2 separate regions of the Homo sapiens genome follow, and region 1 is linked to region 2. Evidence: promoter capture Hi-C in human tissues and cell types (Jung and others, 2019). All regions are on one chromosome and are shown on one strand. Each heading gives the region's core, a stretch centred on a gene start or on the middle of the fragment in contact. The rest is flanking DNA. Distances are from core to core; before and after follow the strand shown.

What was found. The method cuts DNA at HindIII sites, captures the fragments that hold promoters and counts their contacts. A contact is called where the count stands out against the background at its distance.
Region 1: a fragment that was not itself captured here is called in contact with the fragment with the promoter of MEIS2 in region 2 in 1 of the 25 tissues and cell types used here (heart left ventricle).

The regions. Positions count from the first base shown.
Region 1 is chr15:36,675,553-36,678,313 of GRCh38, forward strand. All of the region lies in intron 5 of CDIN1 (CDAN1 interacting nuclease 1), which reads left to right. It overlaps LOC124903466 (a long non-coding RNA gene), which reads right to left. Exons shown (of 3, transcript XR_007064582.1): 1 at 1-2,761. Among named protein-coding and RNA genes, the nearest start is that of CDIN1, 97 kb to the left of the region's middle. The HindIII fragment of the contact is 3,601 bases long and covers 1-2,761 here.
Region 2 is chr15:37,098,957-37,102,029 of GRCh38, forward strand. It overlaps MEIS2 (Meis homeobox 2), which reads right to left and starts at 1,593. Exons shown (of 12, transcript NM_170675.5): 1 at 499-1,593. The coding sequence starts at 510. LOC124903465 (a long non-coding RNA gene) reads left to right here and starts at 292. Exons shown (of 2, transcript XR_007064581.1): 1 at 292-473; 2 at 845-3,073. RefSeq lists silencers at 1-164, 315-374, 2,824-2,963 and enhancers at 1,434-1,593, 1,844-2,123. The HindIII fragment of the contact is 11,980 bases long and covers 1-3,073 here.

The DNA of each region.
Region 1 (2,761 bases), core at 138-2,637, 420 kb before region 2:
TTGGCACAGCATTGTGCTGCCATTGTGCTCAGCGGCCTTGCTGAAAGATTAATTACAACTGAAGAAATGTATCTTTTAACTGTCTCATTACATAAAGAATTCATAGTGAAGTTAACATCCGCATCATTTAATGATATACGGATTTTAATTATATAGTACACTGTTAATTGTACAACTATTTTTAGATCAGGCTACTAACTTGTTCATTTAAATGAATAGCTCATTTGCTTGAGGGACCAAAATGTAAGCTTTCTTGAAAACTCAAGAGAATCTTGAAACCGCTGCAAAAATATGTTAACCTGGTAGGATATTTTTATGGTATTTGTCTCTCCTTAAAATGAAGCTGACCTGTACCTCGCCTTCGTTGCATAGGTTGTTTGACACATAGAATTTTGACTTTTTTTTTGGTACCTAATAAAGTGCAAGAAAGATAGATCTCTGTGTTGGATAATGGGCAGAAATTGAATAGCGGTGTTTTCCTTGAAAGTTGTTGAGATTTTTCTCAGGAGAATTAGACGAAAGTTATTTCTGAATAGAAGCACTGTCCCTGGCTGTAATTAGTCACATGGGTTTAGTTCCCAGGAAATGTTTCTTTCAGCATACTAAAAGTGTTTGAATTTTCATATCGTTTAACATGCCTTGAAATTTCGCCTCTGCTCACCTACCTATCCCTCTCCTACAATTTAAGATATAAAGTTTAGGTTGTTCTTTCCCGTTAGATTCGGGAGCCTGCCGAAAAAGAACACACTTTTGTGCCCCCTTTCCTTGAATACTTCCAATCCTGGGCAACATTTTTAATGACTTAGAATTAACTGCTTTCTAATTATGCACTGAGGCAGACACCATGATGTTGTATGGGCCTTTGCCAGCAATTGGAAACACAAGAGACATAAATGAGCAGGCTACCAGAGGGAATTATTAGAGAGGCTTCTTGAAGTCATCAACTTGCAAAGCAGAGACTTGCCCTTGTCTCATTGAATAATACAGACTTGGTCATACCAGTAGCCACTGTGGTATCACCTTTAGAAGCATCCAGTTTTCTTTCTTTTCATAGACTATAAGACATTTGATCTCATCAGGCTTTCTGGATACCCCAGTAAATTTCGGTAGGTCTTTGCTGCCATGAACTTTCTCCTCTGATCTTGAATGGGAGTTTTCGCTTTACCTGTATCTCACCTCTCATGTTGGGCCCCAGTGAGCCCAGAAGAGGGCTTCCCTTCATTATGTGGCCCTATATTTGCTCTGCATGGAGCACTAGCTTGAAACTTTAATTGCTAATATATGAATTGGAGGAAAATCCAGGAGGGAGGAGGTAATACCATGGAATCTCTTACCGTAAGTTTAAACTATTTATAAAAGTACTATATAACTGTTAACAACAACAACAAAAATGTGTGCTAGTAAGGTCACTTCACATACCTATACCAGTGATAAGCAGTCCTCTTTGGGAGATGAGTCATTAGATGTTTTCACGGTTTACCTCAAGATCCATTGTATCCTATGAGAAAGAGTAGTCTTCTCTTTCCTTTGGCAGTGTGTTCATAAATGTATTTATTCAGCAGTTTGTTGAGTAGCTATTTTGTGCAAAGTGGCTTTGGAGTGGTAACAAATAAGCTTTCTGCTTTTAAGCAGCTTGCCAAATACCCTGACAAAAACAATTCCTTAATCCTCCATGTGAACCATGCATTCTCAAAGGGGGTGAGATTGTGTAAACAGATATGCAGCATATCTGTGGCATTAAAATTTCATGGGGGGAGCAAGTAAGAAAAAATAAGAAGTCTTCTGAGGTGGGTCCTAATGAATAAAAGAAAAGGTTAAGAATCATCTGTTTAGACTAAATAAGGGCCACATAAATCCAAGCTTGAAATCTGAAACCTTGTAGCCTCACCACCAATAATAAACTTGTGAGATTTCTTTCTTGTCTTCTTAGGGGTGACCACATGATGAGCCTCAATCTACTTCCATGTGAAAACCCCCAGATACTTAAAGACAATATTAAGAAAATATTGACACCTTTTTAATGTGGCATGATTTAACATTTCAGCATCCTGATCAATCTCTTGTCATCAGTTGACAAAGTGACATTTAATCAAGTGCCCAATGATTGATACACAATATGAGTTCTCTCCATTCCACAATATGAGGGAGAGGAAGGCAAGTGGATTGGAAAAAAATAAGAGAAGGCTTTAATGGAGGAGGTAAACATTGAACCAGGCCTCAAAGTTTTAGCCAAAGGAAAGTCAGGAAAAAAAATTCCAGATTTGGAAGTTGTGTGTGTGAGTGTGGAGAAGAATTCAGTATATTCATAGCATTAACCAGGTGCTTTCTCAATGTTTGTTGAATGTGTGCTTGTTGGATAAGGATTGGTGGCATATAGCGGCTATAAGGCTGCAAGTTGCCTGAGACAAGGTTCCGATCAGTCTGAACACTCATGCTTTGGAGATATCTTCCTCTTGTCCTTACATAATACTTTTATATTTGATAGCTCTAGTCTAAGTTATTTCTTACATGATTATGTGCTAGTTGGAGAGAATAATTTAATTTGTCCCTATAGGATTCCCTAATGTTAAAAGATATTTCTTATTCAGATTGTCAAATGAGATCAAACTGCTTTAGATTTCACTTTTATGCAGTGGGAGAGCCAGTGGGCTAGTGCTTAGAATTCTTGAGGAGTAGTTCCAACTGCAAGGGCAAGTAGGCTCCTGCAGGCCACTGGCAATATGGAAATTGTTCAGGAAAGACACTGGCAGGTCAACCCCTG
Region 2 (3,073 bases), core at 343-2,842:
CAAGCAGCCCAGGCTAGTAGTCTAGGCGGCGGCGCAGCGGCTGCGGCAGCGCGGCCCCAGCGGCGGCCCCGGCGGCGGCTCCTACGCAGCCCGTGCCCGCCCCGAGCCGCGCGAGCCACGGCGGCAGCGGCGCAGCAGCGGCAGCAGGAGAACCGGGGGAATCGCGCTGCTGGGGTAAAAGCTGGAGCGAGGCGAAAGCGTGTAACGATTGCACACGCACACACACACACCACTCACACGCACTCGCCGCCCGCCCGCTCGCACAGCGCTGGAACACGCGCGCCCAGACACGCACACACGCACGCACACACACTCGCACACACGCAGAGGCACGGGAGGGAAAGAAGCCGATGAATAATTTTGCTATTTTTTAAAATACTGGCCGCCATCATCAAGCAGCGAGCAGCAGCAGAAGCGTTGAAGGGAGAGGAGGCATCGGGACAGGCCCCTCTTAGGAGAGGATTTATATCTAGGTAAGTGTTGGAGATTTAAACCTACCCTTTGCGCCATCAGTCTGCGCTCCAATAAACTCCTGGATGTGTCGTATATTTAATATCCCAGTCCGGATAAGAAAGTGATCTAGGCTGAAGATTCCTTTTTTTTTTTTCCAAACCAAAGAGACTTCTCCCAATTCTCCAATATGCTATTTTTTAGGGGGGAAAAAAAGCCCAGTCTAGACAACGAAGAATTTTTTTTTCTGTGATATTTCTTCTTTTTCTCTTTTTTCCTCTTCTTCCTCCTCCTCCTGATCTTCCTCCTCCTCCTCCACCTCCTCCTCCTCCCCCCTCCCCTCCTCCTCCTCTTCGGTCCTCCTTTCCCCCTCTTTCTCTTCTCTTCCCCTCAGTTGGAAAAAAAAAGAAAGAAAAGAAAAAGAAGAAAAAGAAGAAAAAAATTGTCAAGCCCCCGAACTGAAGGTTACGAGCGGCCCGTCAGCAGCCCACATGTAACCGAACTGTCGTGTTTCATGGCTTTTTGCCACTCCAGCTGTCAATCAAAGCCCGGAATGTCAAGGTAGTGAATGAATGATGGTTGATGATGATGAAGAGGAGGAATCTTTCAGACCCGTTTTTTTCTTCCAGTAAAACTCCGCGAGGGGTTTCTGCTTCTTGAATTTTTTCCTCCCCCCTCCCCCCTTTTTTAGCTTTGCCCCCGCGGTATCTATAATACGATCCTCTCTCTTTAAAGTATTGTTCAAAGAAAGCAGTGAGAAAAATCAAGAAAAAAAAATGAATAGTTTGCAAAAATTGGACTTCCTCCCCCCCTTTCCTGGTAGGTATTTTGTCTCTCCCTCTCTCTCTTTCTCGCTCGCTCGCTCGCTCTCACTCGCGCTCGCTCTCTCGCGCTCGCTCTCTCTCGCTCTCTTTCTCTCTCTGGGAGATGAGTGAGTGTCAGTAGGTGTTGGCAGGTTGGCTGCTGCCTGGCTTATTGAAGAGCCTCAGTTTGGCGGCGCGGGTCGGCGGCGGGAGAACGAAATGACGGAACCCGGAAGTCGTGGTGGCCATAGCCCGTCGTACGGCGGAGACACATCCCGGGAGTGGGGAGCGGGAGCGAGGAGGAGCGCGCCGCGCCGAGCCTCTGATATGCAACGAGTGCGATCGGACAGCCCCGGCTGGGGGGGTGGGGGAGGCGGGGGGGCGGGAGGGGGAGGGGAGGCTCGAGCCGGGCGGACCCGAGCAAATCAGCAAGCCTGCTCCTCCACGGGGATGGGGGACGGCGGGGGGGAGGAAAAGGAGAGTGTGTCTGTGTGTGTGAGTGTGTGTGTATGTGTGTGCGTGCGCGCGTGTGTGTTGCGCGCGCGCGCGCGCGAACAGGGAGAGAGGGAGAGGGGGAGAGAGAAGAGGACAGGGAGAGCGCAGAGAGGAAAACTGCAGAAAACCACAGGGAAAGTACGGTACCGCCTCAGATCTTTTCATTTAAAAAAAAAAAAAAACTTACTTCTAGTTCATTTTCCCATCACTCCCGGCTCCTGCCTAACTGGGTCTTGCCGGGGACGTTTGGCATGGCGCTCTAGCTTTTGTTCCTTTTAATTCCGCGGCCTCCCTCTCCTCTGCCCGCCGATTACAGCACCCCGAAGGCTTCCTGCTAACGTCCAAGGGCAGCAAGCTCTGCAGACGGTACCACTGCCGGGCTAAATTTTTTATTAAGTGGCACTTTCTTTTCTGCGCAGATCCAGCAACCTTGTCAATACTCATTTTTTTCCAGGACCAGAAGAGACCAGCTTAACTCAGAGCACACTCCCTCCAAGCGGTGCGGACAAGGGGCCACCCCGAGAGTCTTTGGGGGCCGCGGCGGAATCGGGAGGGAGGAAGTGAGGAGGCAGTCATCTGGGTCCGATGTAGCCAAAGGCGTGTGTGTGTGTGTGTGTGTGTGTGTGTGTGTGTGTGTGTGCGCGCGCGCGCCCGCGCGCCCGTGCGCGCGCGCGACTAGTGTGCGTCTCCAAAGTGGATCTCACTCAGAGCTGGGAAGCACAGGAGGAAAAGACGGAGAGAGTGGGGGAGAAAGAAGTTGCCGGGCGAGGAGGAGTGGCCGGCGCTCACAGCCCAGCTTTGTTGTGGTCGCCCGAGGCGCAGCGGCGGGCCGCGGTAACGCCTGCTAATGGCTGTGTTAATTACACAGGGGCGATTTCGCGGGGTCAGGGAGATGGGGCCAGCTCCGAAAGAACTTTTCCAAAAAGGAAAAGGAAACGAAGGGAACTACCCCACACCGTTTGGGTGGAAACTAGTTGTGGCCGGTGCCCTGTCCTCCCTGGCCCGAGCTGCACCAGGCTTCACCTCTGCGCGGCTGGTTTCCCGGCGGCCGCGCGTCAATCACTACGAGCCCGGAGTTGGGGGCGGAGCCACGGTCACCCCGCGCAAGCCTTGCCGCCCAGCAGCCCCCATGCCCCTCGGCCCCTTGTGGCGCGGCCGGGCGGACAGGCGCTGGAAGCGCGTCCTCTCCCCAACTTCTCGCTCTCGCCCTCCCAGTCCCTGGCCCAGAGAGTGGAAAGCGGACTGTTGTTCTCCAACAGCCGCATCCCTCCCCAACTTTGAACCCATTCTGAGAAGTGGAGAGTAGTGTCTTCCGCGAGCCGCGT